Regions from separate parts of the Homo sapiens genome. Here all the other regions are linked to region 3. The links are contacts of gene promoters, found by promoter capture Hi-C in human tissues and cell types (Jung and others, 2019). All regions are on one chromosome and are shown on one strand. Each heading gives the region's core, a stretch centred on a gene start or on the middle of the fragment in contact. The rest is flanking DNA. Distances are from core to core; before and after follow the strand shown. Region 1 overlaps MACF1 (microtubule actin crosslinking factor 1). Region 2 overlaps LOC105378669 (a long non-coding RNA gene). Region 3 holds the start of NT5C1A (5'-nucleotidase, cytosolic IA). Region 4 has its middle 21 kb from the start of MACF1.

Region 1 (7,284 bases), core at 3,063-5,562, 390 kb before region 3:
ATAATACATATACAGTTGGCTCTCTGCATTGTGGGTTCTGCGTCTGGGGATTCAACCCATAACGGATGGAAAATATTCTGAAGAAAAACATTGCATCTGTAATGAACATGTACAGACTTCATTATTCCCTAAACAAGATAACAACTATTTACTAACATTTACATTGTATTAGGAATTATAAGTAATCTAGAGATTATTTAAAGTAGCTGGGAGGATGTACACAGGTTGTATGTGAATACTACCTCATTTTGTATCTGGGACTTGAGCATTTGTGGATTTCAGTATCTGCGGATTTTGGTATCTGAGGGAGGTCCTAGAACCAATTCTCCATGGATGACTACTGAAAAGGGGTTACTATCCTATAGATAAAGTGATTAAGAGCATGGAGCCAGATTGGCTAGGTTTGAATCCCAATTCTGCAACTTACTAGCAGTATAACTTGGAACAGGTTACTAAACTTCTCTGTGCTACAATTTCCTTATTTGTAAATGGAAGATAAGAATAGCATATGCTTGGTAGGGTTGTTGTGAGAATAATATGAATTAATACAAGTAATCACAATAAATGCTAGTTAATATTATTACTTAAAAGAACAAGAAAATGAATAAGAAAAAGACAAACACCCTTGTAGAAAAATAGGGGAAAGCCCAGGAATAAGCAATTCACAAAAAAAGGAAATCCAAATGCCTCATATACATAAGAAGACTCCTTTTTACTAATAAGGATATACAGATCAAACAACAATAAGATACTTTTTTTTTTTTTTTTTGAGACAGAGTCTCGCTCTGTCGCCCAGGCTGGAGTGCAGTGGCGCGATCTCGGCTCGCTGCAAGTTCCATCTCCCAGGTTCACGCCATTCTCCCGCCTCAGCCTCCCGAGTAGCTGGGACTACAGGCGCCCGCCGCCATGCCCGGTTAATTTTGTTTTTGTATTTTTAGTAGAGACGGGGTTTCACTGTGTTAGCCAGGATGGTCTTGATCTCTTGACTTCGTGACCCGCCCGCCTCTGCCTCCCAAAGTGCTGGAATTACGGTGTGAGCCACTGCGCCTGTAATTTTTTTTAAAGAGATGAGGTCTCAGCTATGTTGCCCAGGCTAGAGAGCAGTGGCGATTCACAGGTACCATCATAGCGCACAGTAGCCATAAACTCCTGGACTCAAGCTTGTAGCTGGGACTGCAAGCACACCACCATGCCTAGCTAAGATACCATTTTATACCCATCAGATTGGCAGAAGGTAAAAATTCTGAAAATACCAAGTGTAGGCGAGGATGAAGAGTGATGGGAAAACCTCTTCATAGCACTTAAGTGGAAGTATAATTTGCTACTGTTCTTTAGAAAGTAGTTTGACAATATTTTGTAGAGTTGAAAAATGCCCATGTTCTATTACCTAGGGTTTCCATTCTAATTATATTCCCTAGTGAGACCTCCAGGACTCTGAATGTGAATACTGAAAGGAGCACTCCCTTTTACCTAACTCTAATATTGGTAATAAACACCTTCTTTATCTCTGTTCCTCACCAACATAGCTGCCATTAGATCCCTCTAGCTGGGCATTTGTAGAACCACTGCATTGTGCCTTCATCTGCTTCTTCTTCTTCTTTTTTTTTTTTTGAGAAAGAATCTTGCTCTGACACCTGGCTGGAGAGCAGTGGTGCAATCATAGCTCACTGCAACCTTGACATCTTGGGCTTAAACGATCCTCGTGCCTCAACTTGCCAAGTAGCTGGCACTACAGGGGAGTACCACCACACCCAGCTAATTTTTAAATTTTTTGTAGAGACAATTTCTCACAGTGTTTCCCAGGCTCGTCTTGAACTCCTGGGCTCAAGTGATCCTCTTGCCTATGCCTCCCAAAGTGGTGGGATTACAGGAGTGAGCCACTGCACCCAGCCCTCATTTGCTTCTTGAAAGTTTTCAAGGTCTGATGCTTTATCTTTAGTGGGTGATGAGGTCAGCTAGAAACTTGAGGACATAATAATCAAGTACTTACTTGCTCAGAACAACTCGTCTCATCCACTGAGAGACTTACCAAGTCCAAACTCCTCAGCTGGGATAAGATAAGATACCAAGTCGAAACTCCTCAGCTGGGATAAAGATAAGATAGATTACCAGTTCCTTTGTAATCTATCTTATCTTTTCTATCGGTTCCCAATTTAAACCTTCTCATTTTAACAGATCAGTCCCTTAACTACTATTTCTGTTTCACCTTATCTCAGTTTGTTTACATCCACTTTCTACGTGGAATTCCTTTCTTCCTTGGCTTTCACCTGTTCTGTAACACCCTTCAAGGATGAGTTTATATGGTACTTCTAGAAATCCTCCAGCCCACAGTAATTTTCCATTCTGCTGAGATTCTGTATTGGATATTACTATAATTATTGGTCGTTTTTGGCTATAAATTTGTTTAACTATTTCATGTGACCTACCATAGATATGAGATTTTTTTCGTCCAGAAATTAACCTTCAGAAAAGAGATATTCTCTTTATATTTTACTTCTTATAAAGCATTTCTTGTTATTAGGCTTCCAGGGAGCTTATAGTCAGTTCATGAAAAAGGGTGAATAAATCTATGTCACCATCTGCTAGTTCAATCACTATCATTTTTTTGTAGAGATCAACTGACATAATTGATTAAACAAAAAAGAGGAATGAAAAATCTAAGAAAGTTTTAGTTATTGTTCCTGGGAATATAATCTCCTAATTTGAAGTGTTGAAAGTAATTGTATACAAGCCTTAACATTAAAATTTTTTTTTGAATCACTCACATTGCATATGAAACATACACATACATTATGGGGATCACAAATAAACACAGCAGAATGAATGAAAAAAAAAAAAAACCCTAATCCAGTGTTATGTAACTGGACTCTTGTGGTTTGAAATGAAATACCCAGAGACAATGTAGATTCAGAAAAGTGCTGTTATTAACTTTAAAATCTTAGAAAAGTAGACAGTATTTTCTAGAAAATTCACTAAAAAGATAGCTTTATTGAAGGAAAAAACATTGATGTTAAAGATGCATGTGAAGTTTGAATAATACAGTTTTTTGAAATTACAAAGGCAGAAAATACATTAATACTAAATGCTTAAATATACTGCTTAATTTTAAATATGTGTATATGTGTAAATAAATTTCTAAAAGTTTGGGTATTCAGGAGGACTACAGAGCTTCCCTTCCTGTATTCCTGTTTTACCTTCATACATCTGTTGTTATCTGGGAAAATATTTGGGATAATCATATGTTAGTTATGGCATGTCTCAACTAAGTTCTTGCAGGCCAAGCATGTCTTCTTTTTTTGTTTTCCACCTTTTTACCTGGCCAACTTCTACTTATTAAAACTCAGCACAGATGTTGTTGTTGCTGAGCAATCCTCTGGCATTGCTAGTTTGGATTACTTGCTTACCTCTGTCACAACATTGATCTCTTTGTATAGTAAATTGTCTCCCTGATTAAATTGCTTGAACTTGAGGCCTGAGGCTGTGTTTTTTTATTTTGAGATATCAAGAATTTAAGCACAGCTCCTAGAATATAATGGTTGCTCAAAAAATATTAACAGTATAAGTAAGTGGTGTGTCTTTTCTTGTTCTTCTCCATGGTGCCAGTCATAGTGCTAAGATGTTGTTCAGTCAATACTTATTGAATTATTAGGAAAACATTCAGCTTCTGGGAATACTTCAGAGAAGCAATTAACCAAGCTTTGGGAAGTGTGAGATGAAAGGAAATTCAAGTGGAATTTGCATATTCTCAGGCATACTGTTGAGGCTGTTCTCCCTCTCCAAATGGCTTCCTCCTTAAAAAGCCCAGATGAGGGAGAAAGATCTCTGAAACTAAAGCTGGATTTCTGCATTTGGGAGATTAAGGTAAAAGCTTCTGCATAGCCCAGAGCACAGTACTGTGCACACATATCATGTGTGAGTATACAGAAAGAGATTGATGAAAGCCAAATTTAATTACTGAGATGGTTGTGATGATAATCCCATTTTTCTCATCCAGTTTCCAGTCTAGGTAATGGCCCTAATCCAAACAGGTATTTTATTTTTCTTTCCCTTAGGGATCCAAACATCTATCTCATTACAACTATGTTTAAAATCTGAAGTAAAGCTGTTCATTGAAGTAGTTTTAGTGCAATATACAGAAATACTAAGAAATGAGAGATGTTATTAGAAAGATTATGGCTGTAATGAACATACAATATCAATTAACTAACTGGAATTTCATTTTTGGGTGAAGAACCCAAATACTCAGATTTTGTTTTGCTTATTCAAGTTCTGTCTTGTTTTACATCAACAAATCTATTTCCTGTTCCCAATAATGTTTTACTTTAATATGTACGTGAAGCAGCTACAGTGAAGGCAGTGGGATATATCAATGTTGCATTTAGCCAGTGAAATAGGTAGCTAGAAATGTTAAGGGGAACTGAAATAGAATTGGTACTAGGAAGAAGCTGTTTATAGGAAGAGCCGTGATCCATTATTGTGTCCTTGGCTCTGCAGCTCCATAGCTTCTCTCCCCACTACCGCCCCTCCCCCAGCCCCAGGTAGATCTGGAGTTGATTAATAGTTTTAGTAAACTGACTCACACTGATCACATTTGCTTGAGATTGGTCTATGTGAATTTATTAATTTACAAAATAAATTTTAACTGCCAAGTGATTCAAGAATTTGAATTGGCCACTTACTGCTTTTGTTGCTTTAGAATATCTATATGGGAAGCAAATAATAATCTGAAGGTTGTCAGGTGAACATGCAGTCAGAGCAGAGAGGTGGTGAGTAGAGGAATGATTTGTAGGATGGGCTTATTAGCTGGCATCATCAAAGTAGAATAGTCTGATTTCTTCTGTAGAAATGTACCTGTCAAGGGCATAAGATCCTATGTCCCTTGAATCTGCTGGGTAGGGTACAGTTTCACCTTCACAGGCATGGAGGCAGTACTTCCTGGCTTCCCTTTTCTGTACTCAATGCAAGCTTCCCATACTCTTCTATTCTCACGGTCTTTCTTCAGACATCTTAGTAATATTTAGTAGCCTGCAGCTTTCTTTTATTCTAAATATAGTGTTAAAGTTCCTGGCCCTTTTTTTTTTCCAATTTTAAAATATCATCTGATATTTAATCTCATCTATTATGAGTTTGTAAATTCAGACACTTGGAGATGACTTATTATTGACTTCTCCCTTGTATTGATCACAAGGGAAGCTACTACTTTCATGGTACTGCACCTGATAGAGACGACTAAGAGACAGGATGTTCTATTGACATGCCGGTGTTTTCTCTGCCCCAACACCCAGACCAAAAATTGTGTTGGGTATGCTGTCTTATTATTATGGGAAGGGAATACATGTACCCTCGGCACTATCTACATCATCTTATTTAATCCTTATAATGATCCTTTGAGAAAGTTATTATCCTATTTTAAATATGGGGAAAATTGGGCCAGGAGGCTTACATGGTTTGCCTGAGGTCACATTTCTAGTAAATGCCTTCTTTCAAACACATATCTGTCTGAATGAAAGGCTTAACATTTTTCCTTGTTAACAAGGATTGTTTTTATACTTTTTATTATAAAAATAAAGTGTGGTCATTACTCGAAGTCTGAAAAAAAGAAGAGTAGGAAGAAAAACTAAAGTCATTCATAGTCCCACTCCAGAGGAGACAAATATAAACTTGTTTACTTTACACAGTGCTTTGAATTAGCTAAGTAACCTGTCTACAGATTCTAGGTGGGCTTTATGCCAGAATACTTTTTTTTTTTGAGACAGAGTCCCGCTCTGTCACCTAGGCGGGAGTGGTCTCGAACTCCTGACCTCAGGTGATCCACCTGCCTCGGCCTCCCAAAATGTTGGGATTATAGGTGTGAGCCACTGTGCCCAGCCCCCAAAATACTTTTATTTGCTTATTTTTATTATTTCATTTTATTTTTATTATTTCATTCATAAACCAAGTTATTATTAATTAAAACATGTTAAGGTCCCACCATACAACCAGCACAACACTAAGTGCAATGGGCAATGCACCAAAGGACTGTGATCAATGATTCTCAGATTTGGAAGTTATTTCGTTCACAGCATCTTAGTTTCTGCTTGACACGTCCAGTGGCGAGGAGCTCTCCCACATAGGGTTTGCTGTTCAGTTTTATATTGCTCTGGTTGTTAAGATGTGGTGCCAGCCCCCCTCAGGAAACGTGCAGTCTAGGGGAGATAAGATTAAATATATGAAATAATAGTCCATAATGCAAAATAACATTTATTTATTTATTTATTTTTATGTTTTTGAGACAGAGTCTCACTCTGTCGCCCAGGCTAGGGTGCAGTGGCACAATTTCAGCTCACCACAACCTCCACCTCCTGGGTTCAAGCGATTCTCGTGCCTCAGCCTCCCAAGTAGCTAGGACTACAGGTGCGTGCCACCATGCCTGGTTAATTTTTATATTTTTAGTAGAGATGGGGTTTCACCATGTCGGCCAGGCTGGTCTCAAACTCCTGACCTCAGGTGATCTGCCTGCCTCAGCCTCCCAAAGAGCTGGGATTACAGGCGTGAGCCACTGCACACAGCCCAAAATAACATTTAATTAGATGATGATACAGACTGTCAGTGCTGTGGGAGTTAGACAAGTAAGAATCGAAGGAAGACCAGCCTTCAAATAAGGAAGAGATAAGGGAACCCTTATTTGTTGAGCATAACCCTGAGTTTGGGTTAGGTGCTTTAATGTGTAATCTCGCTGATTATCACAGCAACCCTGAAAAGGTGGTATTAGTCCCACTTTGCACACATGAGACATGCACTTTTTCCTCACCTGCATTATGATCTCCCTAAAATAGGTCTTGTGCTGTATTTTGGAGATTTCTTAAAATAGCTTTTTTCTTATTATAAAAATGTACAGGATGCAGAATATTTGGAAAATATAAAAATCCCCTGTAATGTTACTCCATAGAGGTAACTATGATTATTAGTTTGCTGTATTTCTCACATACGTACAGTATTTGCACCTGTATTGCATACATAGGTGCGTGTGTATGCCTTGTACATATATATGACTGTATACTTAAATGTATATTTTGTATGTCTTTTATACAAAATAATCAAGATTACTATATTATTTTGTTTATATTCTTTTTCTTAAATTTGGTAATCATTGTCCTATGTCATTAAAATTTTCTTTGTAAAACTTTTTTATTTACTTTTTTGAGATGGAGTCTCACTCTGTCACTCAGGCTGCAGTGTTGTGGCATGATCATACTTCACTGCAGTCTTGATCTCTCGGCTTCAAGTGATCCTCCCACCTCAGCC
Region 2 (6,799 bases), core at 862-3,361, 350 kb after region 3:
TTTTTTTTTTTTTGAGACGGAGTCTCGCTCTGTCGCCCAGGCCGGACTGCGGACTGCAGTGGCGCAATCTCGGCTCACTGCAAGCTCTGCTTCCCGGGTTCACGCCATTCTCCTGCCTCAGCCTCCCGAGTAGCTGGGACTACAGGCGCCCGCCACCGCGCCCGGCTAATTTTTTTTTGTATTTTTAGTAGAGACGGGGTTTCACCTTGTTAGCCAGGATGGTCTCAATCTCCTGACCTCATGATCCACCCGCCTCGGCCTCCCAAAGTGCTGGGATTACAGGCGTGAGCCACCGCGCCCGGCCTGGAAGAACAGTATTAAGATGAAGTCAAGAGTGCAGCTGTAAGACTTTTTAAGACTTTAGAAAGTTTTAAGTTTTAAGCATCTGTTAGATGTTCTCAAGTAAATGAGGGGCTACTAAGAATGTTAGAATGCTTCATAGACTCTTTTTCTACTCTTTTAAGAATCTTGGTCAGGTGTGGTGGCTCACGCCTGTAATCCCAGCACTTTGAGAGGCCGAGACAGGCGGATCACCTGAGGTCAGGAGTTCAGGACCAGCCTGGCCAATATAATGAAACCCTATCTCTACTAAAAATACAAAAATTAGCTGGGCATGGTGGCAGGAGCTAACTACATGGGGGTGCCTGTGATCCCAGCTACTTGGGAGGCTGAGGCAGAAGAATCACTTGAACCCGGGAGGAAGAGGTTGCAGTGAGCTGAGGTCGCGCTATTGCACTCCAGCCTAGGAGACAAGAGTAAGACTCCATCTCAAAAAAAAAAAAAAAGAATATTAAGGATGTTTCCTATAGCACACTGAATCTCAGACTATGGCAGAGAAGGACCTATCTTGAAAACATTTGTGACTTTGGCTTTCAAGAACTCAAATAAGATTCATAGGAAACTCATAATAATTTAAGAGAATTGCATATGTAGAAGCACCATCAGCTTCAACTAAAAAGAATAGTTTAAAATGAAAAAAAACCCTTGGAACTCAGAACTTCCTATGGGCAAGAAGCAGGCTTCAAAAGCTACACAGCAGCAAATATAAGACTTTTTTTCTGGAAACGGAATGATGATTCAAAGTGAAGAGCCAAGAGTCCAGAAGGCAGAACTCAGAACCACAGAGAATCACTCCCAAGGAGCAGGATTGGGTCCCAGTTAAGGACATGGAAATGTGCATTCTGAAATCTGGGATTTCAGAATTACTATGGAACACTGACTGTTATGTGCCTCCTGTTCATCCCTTTTGAATGGGAGCATTTATTGCAGTTTTCCTATCCTCATATGACTATTGGATGTTGTGTTTGTGTTACAGATGACTTGACTGTATTTCACAGGTCTTCATATCAAGAGGAACCCACACTCAAGGAAGTACGCCTGAAGAGCTTCATCTGCAGCTAGACCTCATTTAGGTAATGAGACTGTGAACTTCAAGCTGATACCATGTGGGATGAGACTTTGGGGGTCCTGGGAGGAGAGTGAGTATATTTTGCACATGGAATGGACGTGAATGGTGTTGGCCAGAGGGCAGGCTGCGGTAGACAGTCTTTAAATATGTATATCATCAGTGTCTGCTGTACTTGTAGTATGTCCTCTTTTTTACTTCTTTTTTTTTTGTACTTTTCTTCATCATTTCACCAGCGGTTTGTCTATTTTATTACTTTTCTCAAAGAACCAACATTTGGTTATGTCAATCTCTTTTATCACATATATTTGTTTTCTGCTTAGTTTCTCCTGTTGTTTTTTCTCCTCTCATTTTTATTATCTCATTACTTCTACTTTCTTTCCTTTTTTTTTTTTTTTGTTTTATTTATTTATTTAGAGATGGGGTCTTGCTCTGTTGCCAGGCTAGAGTGCAGTGACGTGATGACGGCTCGCTTCAGACTTGATCTCCTGGGCTCAAGTGATCCTCTTGCTTCAGTCTCCTAAGTAGCAAAGACTGAGACACCATGCCTGGCTAATTTTTAAATTTTTTTCTAGAGATTGGGGGTCTCGCTATGCTGCCCAGGCTGGTCTCGAACTCCTGGCCTCAAGCAGTTCTCCTGCCTTGGCCTCCAAAGTGGTGAGATTACAGGTGTGAGCCACTATGCCTGGCCACTTCTGCTTTCTTTGTTGATTTTTGTCTAACATCTTGACTTTAAAGCTTAGCTCTTTAAATTCCAGCCTATCTTTTTTTCTAATATAAGCACTTAAGGCTATGCATTTCTCCTTAAGTACATCCTATAAATTTCAATATAGCACTCTTAAAATCATTCAGTTCTAAGTATTTTCTGATACTTTCTTGTATGGTGTCTTCTTTGATCAGTTTAGCAGTAACTATATTTAAAGTTTTTCCAACATACAGGGTATTTTAAGGTGTTGCTGTTACTGTTCTTACTGTCCTCCAGTTATAATGAGACACCCAATGCGGTAAGTATACTGATTCTTTGGTGTTTGAGACTCGTTTTGTAACCTGGAGCATGGTCAATATTTATAAAAGCTCCATGGAAATTCTTGACAAAAATATATGTACTCTAATATTGGCTAACATTTTCTAAGTATAACCTATTAAGTCAAACCTGTTTTGTTTGTTTGTTTTGTTTTGTTTTAAACTGCTTCCCTGTCTTGGACCTGTCTGTCAGAATTCTATACTATCTGTGACATCTTTGGCAACAGTAACCCAATTTTTCCTTTCTTTATTAATGTGACATGAGATATTTGAAAATTCTATGATACATGTAGTATGTTTCATATTAAACTGAATTTGGGGGAGTTTTACACTTAATAGTTTGTCAATATTTTAGGATATTGGTACTTGATATCCTCTTTATATGAACAAATTGACTCTAAATTTTAAGCTGGAAAGCCATTGCAAAATCATGTAGAAAATAGGCTGGGTGCAGTGGCTCATGCCTGTAATCCCAGCACTTTGGGAGGCCAAGGCAGGTGGAACGCCTGAGGTGAGGAGTTCAAGACCAGCCTGGCTAGCATGGTGAAACCCCCATCGCTACTAAAAATACAAAAATTAGCTGGGTGTGGTGGTGCATGCCTATAATCCCAGCTCAGTCACTGTAGTTAAACTCCATTGGTTTGGTCTGTTAGGCTGAGTGCAGGAGCCTAGTCCAAATCAATGGCCTCCTGTAAATTTTAATTAATTAATTTATTTATTGAGATGGAGTCTCACTCTGTTGCCCAGGCTGGAGTGCAGTGGTGCAGTCTCAGCTCACTGCAACCTCTGTCCCCCAGGTTCAAGCAATTCTCGTGTCTCAGCCTCCTGAGTAGCTGGGATTACAGGTGCCTGCCACCACGCCCGGCTAATTTTTTTATTTTCAGTAGAGACAGGGTTTCATCATATTGGCCAGGGTGGTCTTGAACTCCTGACCTCAGGTGATCCACCTGTCTCAGCCTCCCAAAGTGCTGGGATTACAGGCGTGAGCCACCATGCCACACCTCAATGTCCTTCCAGCCTCAGTCAGCCAGGTGGTTTCAAAGCCAATTCCACATTTTAGGCTTTCATTATGGTAGCACCCATACCAAACTTTTTCTTAGAAACAGCTAAAAGCTGCATAAATTTGAGTCCTCTCACAAGTTCAAGGCAGATAGTTACTCAAGAGATTGAGGCTGAGGACGGGAGGCGGCTTGAGCCCAGGAGTTCGAGGTTACAATGAGATATAATTGAGCCACTGCACTCCAGCCTGGGTGACAGAGTAAGGCTCTGCCTCTAAAAAAAGAAAAGAAAAAAGTTCAAGTGGAAAATGGCAGTGAAAAGATAAGAAGCAGCAGGAGTAGACAGGGAGAATCTTCAGGCCATGGTGCAGGACTGACACCCGTGAGAGGAGAGAAGGAAAGAAGGAGGATTGGGTAGGAAGAGGCTCCGAGTGTTAGTGCAGCTCTGAAAAAACTCTTGGCCAGGCTGATTGCCCAGTGAAGGAGTCCCACATAAGGCAGAAATGGCCCAGCTGTAGTATGCCCTGGAGCTCGGTCATTGGCTGGGATGAATCCAGGGAAAGCGTGCCTTGGCAAGAATGCTGTGGCAAATCCCAGAGGTACGGCAGTTACCTCTACACCTCACAGCAGATTCTCTTTGTGAAGGTGGATGTAAGACATTGTGCACACAGTCCACCCCTTGGTCACATAGCCCATCCCTTGCACTGCCAAGATCCACCTGCCCCACATCATTGGAGAGAAGTTCCTCTACAGCTCTCACAGGCCTCTCTTCCTGAGGAGAAACCTGAATGAGTGAGGTTAGGGGGATGAACCATAGCCCCTATTGTTGCAGATGGTTGAGTTGTCTTTTTTTAAAAAAAAAAAAAATCAATTTATAAGACTGGGTGCAGTGGCTCACACCTGTAATCCTACCACTTTGAGAGGCTGAGGAGGGAGGATTGCTTGAGCCCAAGACCACCCGGGGCAACATAGTAAGACCTCATCTCTACAGATAATTTAAAAAATTAGCTGGGTAGGTGAGCCACTGTGCCTGACCATACATTTTATTTAACATATGAAATGCCCAGAATAGGCAAATCTATAGAGACAAGTAGATTAGTGATTGCCTATGGTTGGGCAGGGAGAGTTGTGGGGTGCTGTGTTCTGAATGTGTCCCCAAGATTCATATGTTGATACTGAATCACCAATGTAATAGTATTAAGAGGTGGGGCCTTTAGGAGATGACTAATAAGGGCCGAGCCCTCATGGATGGCATTAAGGCCCTTATAAAAGGGCTTGAGTTGGTGGGTTCCATCTCTTCTGCCATGTGAGAAGGTCCTCACCTGATGCCAAACACCAGTGCTTTGATCTTGGACTTCCAAGCCTCTAGAACTGTGAGAAATGTCTACTATTTATAAATTATTCAGTCTCATGTATTTTGTTGTAGCAGCACAAACAGACTAAGACAGAGGTGGCAGGGGTGAGGGGGGACAGAGTATGACCATTAATGGGTACCAGGTCCCTTTTTGGGGTGATAAAAATGTTCTAAGATTGATCATGGTAAAAGTTGTACAACTCTGTGAATATACTAAAAACATCGAATTGTATGTTTTAAATGGGAGACTTGTATGGTATGTGGATTATATCTCAATAAAGCTGATATATATGTGTGTGTATATATATATGTGTATATATATGTGTATATATATGTGTGTATATATATGTGTGTGTATATATATATATATATATACACACACACACACACACACATATCTATATCTAGGACCAGGACTTACTTGGCTTGGCTTGAAAATAAAACTGTTTTCACTGTCAGCCTCTCCAGATGGTAAATGATTCTAAAGTTAAGAAATGGCTCTGGGCAGAAGTAAAATCCAAGACACTGTCAGGAAAATATTATCTAAAAAAGAAGTTAAAGGTTAAGACCTTTATAGAATGCTTTATAGGATGCTTTATAGAATCCATCTGATAGAAAAAAAAGTCTCTCCAAAGATCTTAAGGACATTTTGGAGCAGTCTCTCAAGGGAAGGAAGTGCTTATCTCAAAGAGATTTATGAGAGTAGCTTTTGTTGGAGTGGATAATAAATTCATGCATAAGGAACCCACAAAGCTTCTAAGAGAATTGCTCTGGCAGAAGCATCTATCAGCTAGGACTAATGGGGACATAGACAGTACAAAATGGAAAGATGCCTTTTATAGGGAGGAATCAGGCTGAGAAGGCTACTCAGATACAAACTCAATTTTCTTATAGAAAAGGAAGGATGATTCAGAGTGTAACCAAGAGCCCAGATATTGGAGCTGAAACCACAATGAACAACTCTCCGGCAATTGGACTAAGCTCTAATCAACCTACATCAGTTGGATTTCAGAGTTGTCTCTGCTGTATGCCTCCCATTTTCCCTTGTTTTGAAGGGGAGCAACTCTAGAGCAACTCTAGCCATGGGAGCAACTGTAGAGCAACTCTAGCCTTTCCCACCATTGTATGTAGGATGTGTATAGGAGGCAAATAAGTTGCCTCGTTAATTCATATATTTGATATGTAGGAAACAAATGGCAGAGATAGATCAATTAGATAAATTGAGAGGCTCTTAAGATAGTCCAGGCAAGAGATGATGGTAGCTTGGAGTAGGTAGCAGTGAAGAAAATGAGTAAGTAGAGAGATTCAGAATATATTTTGAAGTTAGAGCCAATGGTCTTTGCTCATATATTGGAAACGGGACATAAGAGGAATAGAAGAGTCGAATCAAATTCAACTCTTCAATATTTAGCTTGAAGAGCTGGGTTAATAAGTTTCCCTTCAACTGCTTTTGTTTGTCCACTCTCAGAGGAAAATTTTTAAGCGTAACCTACACTGCTCTCCCCCTTTTCTCACCTCCCACTTCCCATTACACTTTATCTAGTCTCTGCCTACTACCAGTCTGCAAAAAATGCTTCTGAAAATATCGCCAAAGGCCACCATGTCTTAAAATCCAATGGATACTTTTTAATCCTTTTTATGTGATCACTCTATTTTATTTAGTACAGGTATCCACTGCCTTTTTGAAATGTTTCTTCCCTTGGCTTTTTTGGACCATGTAGTTTTCTGACTTTCTGCTAACTCTCTAATTGCTCCTTTTCAATCTTCTTTTCTGGCTTCTAACTCTTTGTATAGCTCTGTGCAGAGCTCTGGCTGACCCTTTTCTTGCCTCACTCTGTACTCTTTCAATCTTAGAACTCCACGGCCAAGTGCAGTGCCTCATGCCTGTAATCCCAGCACTTTGGGAGGCCAAGGTGGGCAGATCACTTGAGACCAGAAGTTCAAGACCAGCCTGGCCAACATGGTGAAACCCTGTCTCTACTAAAAATACAAAAATTAGGGCTAGGTGCGGTGGCTCAT
Region 3 (6,266 bases), core at 1,130-3,629:
GCCCCAGTCCCCAGTCTCCATCCCTTCTTCTGCATCACTCAGGCCACAGCATTGACATTCATCCAGCTTCCTCTTCAGAGAGGCACCAGCCTTCTCACTGGTGGGTTTGCTGCCGGACTCACCCTTTCCAATCCATCCCAGAGTGATCTTTCTAAAATAAAAATGGGACCCAGTTAATCCCCTGATGAAAAATCCTGTAATAGCTCCATAATGGTATTCATATGTTTGTTTAAATGTAGGTTGACCTTTTATTTAAATGAATTCAAATAAACTTTGAATTCAATATGTAAGCCAGATATTACCATATATCTCATACCATATGGTACCAGATATAACATATATAATTGGTGTTTATTTATTTTACAGATTCAAATGCATTACATTTATTTATTTATTTATTATAAAGTCAACCAATGAAAACAACACAGTTGTTTGCATGACAACAAATTTGAAACTAGCGGCTAGAATGCCAGTGCAGACTTAAGCTTCAGCATCCGGCCAAGTTGTTGCTGTGTTTGTATTTGTACAGTATTGAGAAAGTCCTGATTCAGACCAATAAGTGGTTGGAAATGCTAAAAGGTTTTTTGTTTTGGTTTGTTTTAAACTAAAGGCCTTACAATCTCAAGACGCTCTTTGATGGAACAGATCACAGGGGAAGCCTTATTCTGAGCTTTGCTTTAAAAAAATCTGCAGCACAAGCTAGTGGCCTTCAAGCTGCTAAAATGTCCACCTAATACATTAGAGTGAGTTGGGTTTTATTACACATTTTTAATTGTTTAAAACATAGTCCGAAGAAGAAAGAAAATAAATTGGATTCACATGTGTGCAGACTCCCTGAAACATGGGGCTTGGGGAAGCTAGTTTGGAAATCCCTGACCCCCTTGAGTAAGGTCCAGACTCCTTAACATGATCCCCAAGGCCCTCTGTGGGCTCTTCCACATCCCTCCAGCTCTTCTTCCAACAATCCTGCATTCTTCATTCAGTACTTATTCAGGAACACAGTCCTGAGCTTCAGAGACATCTGCATGACTTTTGCCTGTCCTGTTTCCCTCTCCCTGGGAAACTCCACCTACTCAGGCTTTAAGATCAGGATACGTGCCACTTCTACAAAGCTTTCCCCAGTGTGATGTCACTACTCTACTCCCCCCCCAACTCCCCTAGGCTCTCATCTCTGGAGCCTCCATCATTGTGCAGTGAGCTCCTGAGGCAGGGACTCAGGTTATTTAATTCTTCAATCCCCACTCTTGAGCAGAGCTTGGAGGTGCTAATTGAATGATTGCTGATAGGGTGGACCTGTTGGGGAAGGGTTCTTGGAGGGAAGCAGCAAATTGCTTTAAGATCAAGCTGGAGCTCTTTGGAGGACCGCTGTGGGCCAACCTCTATTCTCGGTTTTCTCCTCAAGCTCTGAGATCTGGGAAGTTGGAGACAGCAAGGTCCAGGGGCAGACCAGGGCATCATCAACTTGTTTGATGGCAGAGAGGAGAGAGCTCCTCTGTGAGGTCCCAGACGGTTGACACCACCACAGGGTCGTGGGGATGTTAATGCCCACTGCAAGGGGAGCAGAACCCGAGCTGGGGGGCAGAGTCCAGCGCTGGGAGCCTGCGGCCAGGGGCGCCGATCGCCCCCCAGCGCAGAGTGTGGATCCCAGTGCCTGGAGAGAGCAGCTCCCTTTCCTTAGGACGCGGGGAGCGCACTGCCCCCAGCCCAGGGCCCAGGACCCAGAGCCAGACCCCAAACGCAGAGTCTCAGGTCCGGAGCCCGATGCCCAGATGGCGGAGACCGGAGCGCACAGCCAGGAACCGGGTTCCCAAAGTCTGGTTACCCGCGCCTGGGGCGCTTCTGGAAGCGCTGCGGACCAGCTTCGCCAACAAGTGCAATCCGCGCTCCCCGGCGGCCCGAGTGGGGAGGGGCTGGGGCTGCGGGCCTCTAGCTGGGCCCTGATGACAGCATGGGGGAGGGGGAGCCTGGCGTGGAACCCGAGTCCCGGTAAAAAAATACACCAGAGCAGAGCTCCCAAAATAAACCCGAGCCCGCGCCAGCTGCAGGGCGCATTCTGGGGCTGAGGAGCTGCGTCCCCTCCCAGAGGGGCGCCACGGGTCCCTTCCCAAGAGACTTATGACCCCTCCTCCGGGGTAACCCTTCCCCCGTCCCCCGCATACCCGTGCATTGCTTTTACCGATTTGGGTTTCTTCTTGGGCGCGAGGTTGTCGTAGAAAATCTTGGCTTCCTCCCAGACCGGGGCCGCAGCGGTCTCCGCTCCTGGCCCGGGCTCGCGGGGCTCCTGGGGCTCCCGGGGCTGCCCAGGTTCCATGCTCCGGCTCTGACCCGGCCCGGCCAGAGCAGGCGGCGGCGTAGACGCGGAGGTGGCTGGGGCTGGGCTGCAGGAGGGAGGCGAGTCCCGGCGAGGGAAGGGGGCGGGCAGCGGCGAGGAGGCTGTGCGTGTGAGCTGGGCTCCCCGCCCGCCGGGCGGGGGGAGGTCACACTGGCCCTCTCGGTCGCCCGTGTGTCGCTGCCGCTGCTGCTGCTACTGCTGTACGGTATGAGGGATAGCTGGGCTCTCCTTCCCCGACCGACCCACGCCAGCAGCCGGTTGGGTGGTGAGGGGGGCTCTCTGGCTCTCTGGGTTTGTGGGCTGCAGCGGATTGGGGATTGCGAAAATGATGTTCTTCGCAGGCGCTGCAGGGCGCGGAGACAGGAGAGGCCTGACAACTTTTTTTTTCCCCCAGGATAGTGATCCCCAAAGGACAAAATGAAAAGCTAGCCGCTCCCCTCCCAAAAGCTAGCTGCCCATCTTTCCTTTAGGAGCTAGGACCCTGGGATCCTGACGATGTCCCCTTCCCTCCGAGGCCAGTCCATCCGGCAGACGGGCAGGAGGTGATGCATGGATGGCTCCTCTCACTAGCAGAAGCCTGCTCCCAGCGGGAGCTCAGTGAAGGGCCCAACCCGGCAGCTCCTCCACACCACCTAGGAGGGGCCCTTGAAGTCCATGTTGAGACCAGGCTCGGGTGGTCTCAGGTCGAGACCTTGGCCTGGGGTGGGGACCCAGGCCAGAGAGACTCCCAGGGACTCTGAACCCGAATTCTTGCTGGCCCTTTGGTGGTCAGCAGAGGGCGCGCATTCCTAGGCCCCCACCTGCCCAGCTTGGGGTGATTTGTTATAGGCCATGAAGGGGCTGGATAGAGGGAGGGCAGAAGAGGGGCCTCGGAACTACCATCCTGGAATTCCAGGGTGTTGTCCCTCTTGATGCAGAGCTCTGTACTAGTCTCAGGGTGCAGACACAAATGTCACCCATCCCAAGGTACAGGCCAGGAAGCAGACAGCCTCTCTCAGAGGTGTGCATGGGTGGGTGGGAGAAGCAGGAGAAAACACTGGCTTAGCTAGGAGGGCCTCTGACTGGGGAGGTGAGGGGGCTACAGAATGGAGTGATCCCCTCAGCCTCCACCAGGTCCTGGGAGGAATAAACCAACCCTTGTGTGGGAGGAAGGGAAAAATCATAATAAAATGTTAGGATTGGGGGAAGTGTGTTTAGACTTACTTCTAGAAGATTGTTTCCAGAGATGGCCCAAAAACCTCTTCCATCCTGCCTGTCCTTTGGAAATGTGACTTTGACATTCCTCCCATTCAGAGGTGGAGTCCAGTCTGAGCTGGCCCTGTGACTTGCTTTGACCAATTGAATGGAGTAGAAGTGGTGCTCTGTGGTTTCCAAGCTTACGTCTTAAGAGGCCTTGCAGATTCCATTTTTGCCCTCTTGGGAGCCAGCTACTATGTAAATAAGTCTGGACTATCCTGCTGGAAAGGCCACGTAGTGAGACAGATAGGACCTGGAGGATAAGAAGCTAGCGACAGCCCAGGTGACTATAGGCACAATTGACAGACATGTGAATGAGGCCATCCTGGCTGTCCCAGCCCCAGCTCAGCTCCCAGTGGAGTGCAGCTATGTGGGTGACGCCAGCCAACACAACCTGAAGCAGTAAAACCTTCCAGCTGAGCCCAGCCAACTCACAGAATCATCAAAAATAATAAATTGTTGTTTCAGGCACCAAGTTTTGGGGTAGCTTGTTACACTGCAATAAATAATTGAAACTCTAGGAATGAGGTCAATTATTCTCAGGTGCCTCATGGAGAAGAATGATGAAGTAACTCAGGAAGAATACATAGAGTGGTTACTTGGATGGAGGTGGGCACTTCACACAAAAGTGAGCCACCCCCATGCTGTCCAGCGGCCTTTAATCTGTGTGATTGGCTTGAAAAGATGACCTGGGCCAAGCAGATTTGTCTTTCTCAGGAATTTGGAATTGGGAAATGGGCTGGGCAGTCAACCATTGGAATAGAAGCTGAGGATGCTGTGAAATACAGTTGGCTCCGAAGAGACCTGGGTGAGCCTCAGCAGACTGCAGTTATATGCAAAGTAAAGCTCGGCGCAGGTGGAGACTCTCTGAGCAGAATGAGATGAGCAGCAGATCAAGATGGGAAAGGATGTGCAGAGAGCAGCACATGAGAGAAACCATGCTGCCCTGAGATGGAGCCGCCTCTGCTCCTGACAGTTTCCCAAGTTCTAGCTAAGGCCTGGCTCTGGTGCCCATCTCTACACTTTCATGAGATTCTCCACATTGTTTCAACAAATGCCCCCAAAAGGAAATTTGGTGGATTGTGGTTTTGCTTGAGTGGCCACTTTTCCCGGCCTCTCTTTCTAATAAAAAGCCCTGCCTCCCTGGTTTTCTGGTCAAGAAGTACCAGACCTGGTACAGAGACCTGTAACTGAGACCTGACCAATGGCGGAGCCCTGTGTCCCTGGACACAAGGATGAGCATGTGACCCCAGCTGAGACACTCTTCACTCTTATTTAGGGCTTCTGGGAGATTTGGCTCTTTTTCTCTGAGGTTGTTAATTTGGGGCAATGTGAGCTGGGAACCCATTTGGCAGGTGAAAGAACATGGAAGAAGCACATCTGGAAGGACAATGGTGCCACAGAGAGAGAAGCAGAAGGAGGGAGGGAGAGAGGATGCAACTGAGTTTCTGGACCCAGCCATGCCTGAACTTCCCAATTACATGAGCCAATAAGCCTCCCTTTTTGCTTAAGCTTGTGTGAGTTGGATTTCGTTCACTTGCAACCAAAAGTCCCAACTAATCCATTCCCCTTTACTCACCCTGCCATGAGTAGGCACTGTTCCTTGCCATCAAGGAATCCTGCCCAGACTCCTGGTTCAGTCCCTTTAAGAACTTTCCCCGGGCCGGGTGCGGTGGCTCATGCCTGTAATCCTAGCACTTTGGGAGGCCGAGGTGGGTGGATCACAAGGTCAGGAGTTCAAGACCAGCCTGACCAACATGGTGAAACTCCATCTCTACTAAAAATACAAAAATTAAAACTGGGTGTGGTGGGGTGCGCCTGTAATCCCAGCTACTCAGGAGGCTGAGGCAGGAGAATTGCCTGAACCCGGGAGGCAGAGGTTGCAGTGAGCCGAGATCATCGTGCCACTGCGTGCCAGCCTGGGTGACAGAGCGAGACTCTGTCTTAAAAAAAAAAAAGAACTTTCCCCAGATCCTTCTTTGGAAGGATTAGAGAACTTGATCCTTAACTGTTCTTTCCACCCTTCCAGGCTTCTGGCCATGCTCTCTGGCTTGCCTGTCACTTGCTAATAGCTGGCTGGGTGCAGGGCTTCCCTGGCTCAGGGTTTCTGGACTCCAGCCAGGACTTTGCCTCCAGGTCCAGCACTTCTTCAGATGAATAAGCTGGGAACAGACCCTGTAGGGCATGACTCCAGGAGCCCCACACCTGGCTGTTCCCTTGGAGAGCCCTGCTCCAGCATGCCTGGCCCTGTTGGCTAATGTTTAGTAAGACCTGGGGCAGATGCCACCTCCTCCATGAAGCCATGGCTGCCCTTTGCTCTTTACCTATTCCTCACCTCTCCCCAGTCAGGTAAGACGCTTCCTCCTCTGAAGCTCAGAGCTCATGGGTTTTTTGTTTTTGTTTTTGTTTTTGTTTTGAGACAGAGTCTTGCACTGTTGCCCAGGCTGGAGTGCAGTGGCACGATCTCGGCTCACTGCAAGCTCCGCCTCCCGGGTTCACGCCATTCTCCTGCCTCAGCCTCCTGAGTAGCTGGGACTACAGGCGCCCGCCACCATGCCTGGCTAATTTTTTTGTATTTTTAGTAGAGACGGGGTTTCACCGTATTAGCCAGGATGGTCTCGATCTCCTGACCTCATGATCCACCCGCCTCGGCCTCCCAAAGTGCTGGGATTACAGGTGTGACCCACCGTGCCCAGCC
Region 4 (6,859 bases), core at 3,792-6,291, 490 kb before region 3:
AGTAAAAAGTATTTGTTATATAAATGCAGGATGAAGACTTATTATGATGGCTTTTCCTCTTTCAACCAGATTGCAAGATACAAGCCTATTTTTAATAAAATTTCTGGTTCCCTACTCTGGTACTAATGCAAAGATTTATTTTTCTTAGGGATGAGTTGTGGCCAATTGATATAAAAGGAGATATAGGCCAGGCATGGTGGCTCGTATCTGTAATCCCAGCACTTTGGGAGGCTGAGGCAGGTGGATCACTTGGGGTCAGGAGTTCAAGGCCAGCCTGGCCAACATGGTGAAACCCCATCTCTACTAAAAATACAAAAATTAGCAGGGCGTGGTGGCTCATGCCTGTAATTCCAGCTACCGGGGAGGCTGAGACAGGAGAATCGCTTGAATCTGGGAGGCAGAGGTTTCAGTGAGCCGAGATTGCGCCACTAGACTCCAGCCTGGGCAACAGAGCGATACTCCACCTCACACGCACACACACAAAGAAGATGTACTTTCTTCTTTTGATACTTTTTTACATATTTGACGCATTTGTGATAGAGAAATGGATTATGATTATTCTATCCTTCTTCCTTTTACTAAGGTAGAATGAGCCAAGGTCAGTGGGGCCTGACGGATCTCAGGGCCTTTGCTGTTCCTCTCATCCCTGGCTATGGTTGGCTAAGTCTCTTTTTCTTAGGTCTCAGGGTGTTCAGCTGTTTTGGGAACTTGTTGAAAATTGTTGCTTTGCAGTACAAAAGACACTCTGTTACTTTTTAATCAATATCTTTTTTTTTGAGACAGGGTCTGGCTCTGTTGCCCAGGCTCGACTACAGTAGCCCATCTCTGTTCACTGCAGCCTCTGCCTCCCGGGTTCAAGTGATTCTTGTGCCACAGCCTCCTGAGCAGCTGGGACTACAGGCGCGTGCTACCATGCCCAGCTAATATTTTTGTATTTTTAGTAGAGATGGGATTTTGCCACGTTGTCCAGGCTGGCTTCGAACTCCTGGCCTCAAGCGGTACACCCGCCTTGGCCTTCCAAAGTGCTGGGATTATAGGCGTGAGCCACTGCGCTGGGCCAGTAATCAGTATCTTTTTAGCATATTACTTATTTTGGGGGGATCCTCCAAATCAGGGGTCTCCAGTGTGCTAAATATTTGATAGAGCATAGGGAAATTTGAGTATTTTAGTTTCCGAGTATTAGTAAAGAGTGGCTCACATTGCCTTTTACTTTATACGTTCATGCATTGGAAGACTTAATATTGTTAAGATGGCAGCACTCCCCAAACTGATCTATAGATTCAATGCAATCCCTGTCAGAATCCCAGTGGGGTTTTTTCTTCTTCTTTCTTCTCCTCCTCCTCCTCTTCCTCTTATTCTTCGTCTTCCTCTTCCTCCTCCTCCTCTTCTTCCAGAAATTGGCAAGCTGCTCCTGAAATTCATGTGAAAATGCAAGGGACCCAGAATAGTCAAAACAATCTTGAAAAAGAACAAAATTGGAGGACTCACACTTCCAGATTTGAAAACTTACTACAAAGCTACAGTAATTAAGACAGGATGGTACTGGCATAGGGATAGACATATAGATCAATGGAATAGAATTGAGAGTCTAAAAATAAACCCTTACATTTATGGTAAATTGATTTGTGATAAAGGTGCCAAGACAATTCAATGTAGAAAGAATTGTCTTTTCAACAAATTATACTGGGACAACTGGATATCCATATACAAAAGAATGAAATTGGCCAGGCGTTGTGGCTCACGCCCATAATCCCAGCACTTTAGCAGGCAGAGGTAGGTGGATCACGAGATCAGGAGTTCGAGACCAGCCTGGCCAACATTGTGAAACCCCATTTCTACTAAAAATACAAAAATTAGCTGGATGTGGTGGCGGGCACCTGTAATCCCAGCTACTCGGGAGGCTGAGGCAGGAGAATCGCTTGAACCCGGGAGGCAGAGGTTGCAGTGAGCTGAGATGACGCCATTGCACTCCAGCCTGGGCAACAGAGCAAGACTCCACCTTAAAAAAAAAAAAAAAAAGAATTTAAACCCTGACCTCACACAACATATAAAACTTAACTCAAAGTGGAACATAGACCTACATATAAGAGCTAAAATTACAAAACTATTAGAAGAAAACTTAGGGGTAAATCTTTGTGACCTTGGATTAGGTAGTGGTTTCTTGTAGCTAACACTGAAAGTATACACAAAAAAGAAAAAAATAGAGAAATTATACTTGATCAAAATGTAAAACCTTTGTGCTTCAAAGGACACTACCTAGAAAATGAAGACACCTCACAGAATGGGAGAAAATATTTGCAAATCATATATCTAATAAGGGACTTATATCCAAAATATATAAAGAATTCTTTGAACTCAACAGTAAAAAGAAAACCCAATAAAAAAATGGGCAAAGGATTTATATAGCCATTTCTTCAAAGAAGATATACAAATGGCTAATAAGCACATGAAAAGATGCTTAGATGCTTAACATCATTAGTTATTATGGAAATGCTAATCAAGATCACAATGAGATACCACTTCATACCCACTAGAATGGCTTTAATAAAAAAGAGAGTGAGGATGTGGAGAAATTGGAACACCCCCAACATTGCTGGTGGGAATATAAAATGGTGCACCTGCTTTAGAAAACAGTTTGGTGGTTCTTCAAAAAGTAGAGTTGCCACATGACCCAGCAATTCCAAAGTATATATCCAAAAGAAATATTATATTCATAGAATATAGAAAACATATATTCATAGAAAACTCGTACATAAATGTTCATAGCAGCATTATTCATAGTAGCCCCAAAGCAGAAACAGCTGAAACATCTATCAACTGATGAATGGATAAACACACTGTGGCATATCCATACAACAGAATATTATTTGTCAGTGAAAAGGAATGAAGTACTGATTGATGCTAACATGGATCAACCTTGAGAACATTAGACTAAGTGAAAGAAGCCAGACACAAAAGGCTTGTATGATTCCATTTATACCATTTATACATAATAGGCAAATCCATAGAGACCATAAGTAGATTAGTGGTTGCTAGGGGTTGAGGAGGGGCGAATGGGAAGTGACTGCTAATTGATATAGGGTTTCTTCAGGGGGTGATGGAATGTTCTAAAGTTAGATAATGGTGATGGTTGAACAACTCTGTGAACATACTGATACTTAAATATCCATTGAATTGTTTACCTAAAAAGGGTGAATTTATGTTAACCAAATCTCAGTGAAGCTGTTATAAAAATATTAGGCTGATTTGTAGGTATGAATAGTATTTGTCTGTTTGTATTGGGCCCCTTATTGCTGCCACTGAGAATCTTGAAGTTGTCTTGAATATTTTGCTTCAGAACTGTCACTGTCTTGAGCAGGCAAGTTACTGTTGCCCCAAATCTTCAAGGTGAGAAACAGGTTTGCAATCATTTTTTTGCAGGAGAATACATGATGGCACTTTATATCAGGAAGCGAACTTTTAAGGTGAGCACTCTGAAGTTGAAGCATTTCCAAGTTTTAAGTGGGACTGTGCCCTACCTTAGTTCTTACTTCATCCTTTAAACTGTGTGTCACACTGGAGTAGGCAGTTTCCCAGCCCCATACCCAGCTCCACCAAGATCCTCACTTCTTTCATCATTTGCCCATTTTTCCCCAGGCTATGTTTGATCTTGCTCTGAGGCCTTCTTTCTTGGGAGGTATAGCGAGAGTAGCTGCAGAAACCTCTGGGTGGCACCCTGCCCCCACAGGATTACCAAAGAATGACATGTGTGGAAGAGGCTCAGGCCTGTGTTGGCAGGAAGAAGTGACTCATTTTTCATCAAAGGAATTTCAAAGAACATATAATGACAGGATGATGTCACAGGAGCAGGTGGAGACAGGAACCTTGATTGAGCTGCTGGAAGATATTAAATGGTGTGGCTGCCTGGGCAGTCAGAATGATTGACCAGCATAAATCACAGGAAACATCACCTGTTTTTTAGTTCCTATTTCATGAGCCCTGGTGTGGGCAGTGCTGTTCATGTGCCCTCAGAGCATATGGTTGAGTCTATGCATGTCTTGGGTATACTGTGTTTGTATCTGGGTGAGATGGCTCACAACATCCTGTGCTAGTCATGGACTTCTTTTTCATGCAGGGCGGCGTGTGTGGGTTCCTGCACTGTGTGCCTCAGTTCTATAGCTAGCAGGGTCTGTGTCTTGGAAATGAGCCTCACATGGTCATACTGGCTGGTTTGAAGGCATGACATTTCCTCTGACATATTTAGAGAGGGGAACTTGCCTTGACATCAGAAGGTCAGATCTCAGAATTTTTTACCTTATTGCCAAAAGTACCCTAGTTCCATCTAGTATTTTGGCAAGAGCTAGATCTTTGCTCAAAGCCCAGTTAAGTCTTGTGGTGGTGGTGTTTTTCTTCTTTGAGTAGAGGGCCCTCCAATGGTGTTGTATGGTTGAAGCTGATAAGGTGAGGCGGAGTGTGGTGGCGGGATGGAGAGTTTCAGTCAGGATAAGTCTTAGTATCTTTTCATATCGCAAAGCAGTAAAGTTGGTTAGGTTATTCAGGCTGTTATTTATATTAAGATTGTGAAAGAGTGCTCCTGGTCATCATCATGCACCTACCAGAGTCTGTGTGATTATGAGGTTGGAGGCTAAATTAGCCATTTACACAAAGATAAAAGAGAGGCTAGCATTGATAATATTCTGCCTCAGGTTTCAGGCCTCTCAAGGAAGGTCTTAGGAGAGATGGCTTAGCAATATCAATTGCTGCCTTTGTGCTTATAACTCGTTCATCTGAAGATGGCCTGGAAAAAGGGACTTTTAGGCTGCATAGGACACCACCAAAAAAGTAGAAGATACTACCTCTCTTTAAGATGTATCAGGGCTGGTGCTGGGCGTGGTGGCACACGCCTGTAATCCCAGCACTTTGGGAGGCCGAGGCAGGTGGATCACGAGGTCAGGAGATCGAGACCATCCTGGCTAACACGGTGAAACCCCATCTCTACTAAAAATACAAAAAAATTAGCTGGGCGTGGTGGCGGGTGCCTGTAGTCCCAGCTACACGGGAGGCTGAGGCAGGAGAATGGCATGTACCTGGGAGGTGGAGCTTGCAGTGAGCCGACATGGCACCACTGCACTCCAGCCTGGGCGACAGAGCGAGACTCCGTCTCAAAAAAAAAAAAAACAAAAAAGGAAAAAGAAAAGAAAAAGATATATCAGAAGAGCTGGGCATGGTAGCTCACACCTGTAGTTCTAGCTACTCGGGAGGCTAAGGCAGGAGGATTGCTTGAGCCCAGGAGTTCAAGGCTATAGAATAGTGCCATGATTGTGCCTGTGTAGTCACTGTACTCCAGCCTGGACAGCATAGAGGCCCAGTTTCTTTAAAAAAAAAAATTTTTTTTTTAAATAAACCCAAGATATATCAGAAGCAAGAAGGAAAAGTTAAAAAACAACAACTATAATTTGAAAGGGAGGAAGGAAAGCTTTATTTATTTCTTGACACAGTCTTTAATTGTTACGTTCTTCTGGCTGATCATGAGTTTTGTTTTTAGACAATATTACTAGGTACACTGTAGGATGTAAACAGATCTTTGGAGTAGGATAAGAAGGAAATGAGTCAGATAACTTACTTCTTAGAGAAGGGTGCTGGACTTTCCGGGGGCTTAGTTAGCAATATTCCTCCTCCCTGCTAGCAGCCATCTCCCTGTATCTCTTCATGAAATAACAAATCATTAGAAGAGATTTTTAACCTGAAGTGCTGAAGGACCCAGGGAAGAAAGTTCCCTAGGGTGTATTTGATTTGGGAGCCCCCTGAGGGTAATCTGTGGTGATGCTGTTTCAGAAGTCACCACCTGACTCGTTGTCAGATGAGTCTGAGCCCAAGACTCGTACCTGCCACATAATATATACAGGTCCTCTCTCCCTTTGGTTATGAGCTAAAGGCCTTTAATCATGAGGTAGAGGAGTGGATAAGGGAGAAATATCTGAAACCCAATTAACCAGATTCCAGAATGTTAAGGGAATCCATGTGGGGGCTGGGATTCTGAACATCTCTCTCTCTCTCTCTCTCTCTCTCTCTCTCTCTCTCTCTCTCTGTGTGTGTGTGTGTGTGTGTGTGTGTGTGTGTTTTGGTGGGGGGTGAAATGACTTTTTTTTTTTTTTAATTTGAGACAGAGTCTCACTCTGTCACCAGGCTGGAGTGCCGTGGCATGCTCGGCTCACTGCAACCACCAACTCCCTGGTTCAAATGATTCTCCTGCCTCAGCCTCCCGAGTAGCTGGGATTACAGGCACGCGCCACCACGCCCGGCCTAGAAATGACTTTTTTAGGGGCTCACCTATAGGATAAAATCCAAACTCATCTTGTCATTTAAGATCTTTCATAATCCAGTCCAACTTTCTATAACATTAAATCAAAATTATACATGTTCTTACTTTAAAAGGTTAAAATATTACTATAAGGCATATGACAAAAATAATCTGTATTTTCCACTATTTTTTTTTAAGAGACAGGGTCTCACTCTTCCACCCAGGCTGGAGTGCAGTGGTGTGATCATGGCTCACTGCACCCTTGAACTCCTGGGCTCAAGGGATCTTCCCACCTCAGCTTCCTGAGTAGCTTAGACTATAGGTGTGTACCACTGCGCCTGGCTAATTTTTTTTTCTTTTTGTAGAGTTGGGGGTCTTGTTTTGTTCTCCAGGCTAGTCTCAAACTCCTGGCCTCAAATGATGCTCCTACCTTGGCCTCCCAGAGTGCTGGGATTGCAGGTGTGGGCCCCCACACCTGGGCCACATTTCTGTTTCTTTTTTTTCTGCACACACAAACAGCCAGAATATATTTCTTTCTCTTTTACTAGTGATTCTTGATTTTTTTTTTTTTTTGGTTTT

What was found. The method cuts DNA at HindIII sites, captures the fragments that hold promoters and counts their contacts. A contact is called where the count stands out against the background at its distance.
Region 1: a contact is called between a fragment that was not itself captured here and the fragment with the promoter of NT5C1A in region 3, in 2 of the 25 tissues and cell types used here (dorsolateral prefrontal cortex and lymphoblastoid cells).
Region 2: a fragment that was not itself captured here is called in contact with the fragment with the promoter of NT5C1A in region 3 in 1 of the 25 tissues and cell types used here (lymphoblastoid cells).
Region 4: a contact is called between a fragment that was not itself captured here and the fragment with the promoter of NT5C1A in region 3, in 1 of the 25 tissues and cell types used here (lymphoblastoid cells).

The regions. Positions count from the first base shown.
Region 1 is chr1:39,274,328-39,281,611 of GRCh38, forward strand. The region is part of intron 6 of MACF1 (microtubule actin crosslinking factor 1); the gene reads left to right. Among named protein-coding and RNA genes, the nearest start is that of MACF1, 73 kb to the left of the region's middle. The HindIII fragment of the contact is 3,769 bases long and covers 2,429-6,197 here.
Region 2 is chr1:40,022,365-40,029,163 of GRCh38, forward strand. The region is part of intron 2 of LOC105378669 (a long non-coding RNA gene); the gene reads right to left. Among named protein-coding and RNA genes, the nearest start is that of CAP1, 15 kb to the right of the region's middle. The HindIII fragment of the contact is 3,453 bases long and covers 386-3,838 here.
Region 3 is chr1:39,669,728-39,675,993 of GRCh38, forward strand. NT5C1A (5'-nucleotidase, cytosolic IA) reads right to left here and starts at 2,380. Exons shown (of 6, transcript NM_032526.3): 1 at 2,177-2,380. The coding sequence starts at 2,311. RefSeq lists a silencer at 2,163-2,572. The HindIII fragment of the contact is 3,595 bases long and covers 799-4,393 here.
Region 4 is chr1:39,180,149-39,187,007 of GRCh38, forward strand. It overlaps a transcript of MACF1 not described here. Among named protein-coding and RNA genes, the nearest start is that of MACF1, 21 kb to the right of the region's middle. RefSeq lists enhancers at 2,993-4,192, 3,433-3,947, 3,702-3,971, 3,948-4,461. The HindIII fragment of the contact is 7,790 bases long and covers 1,147-6,859 here.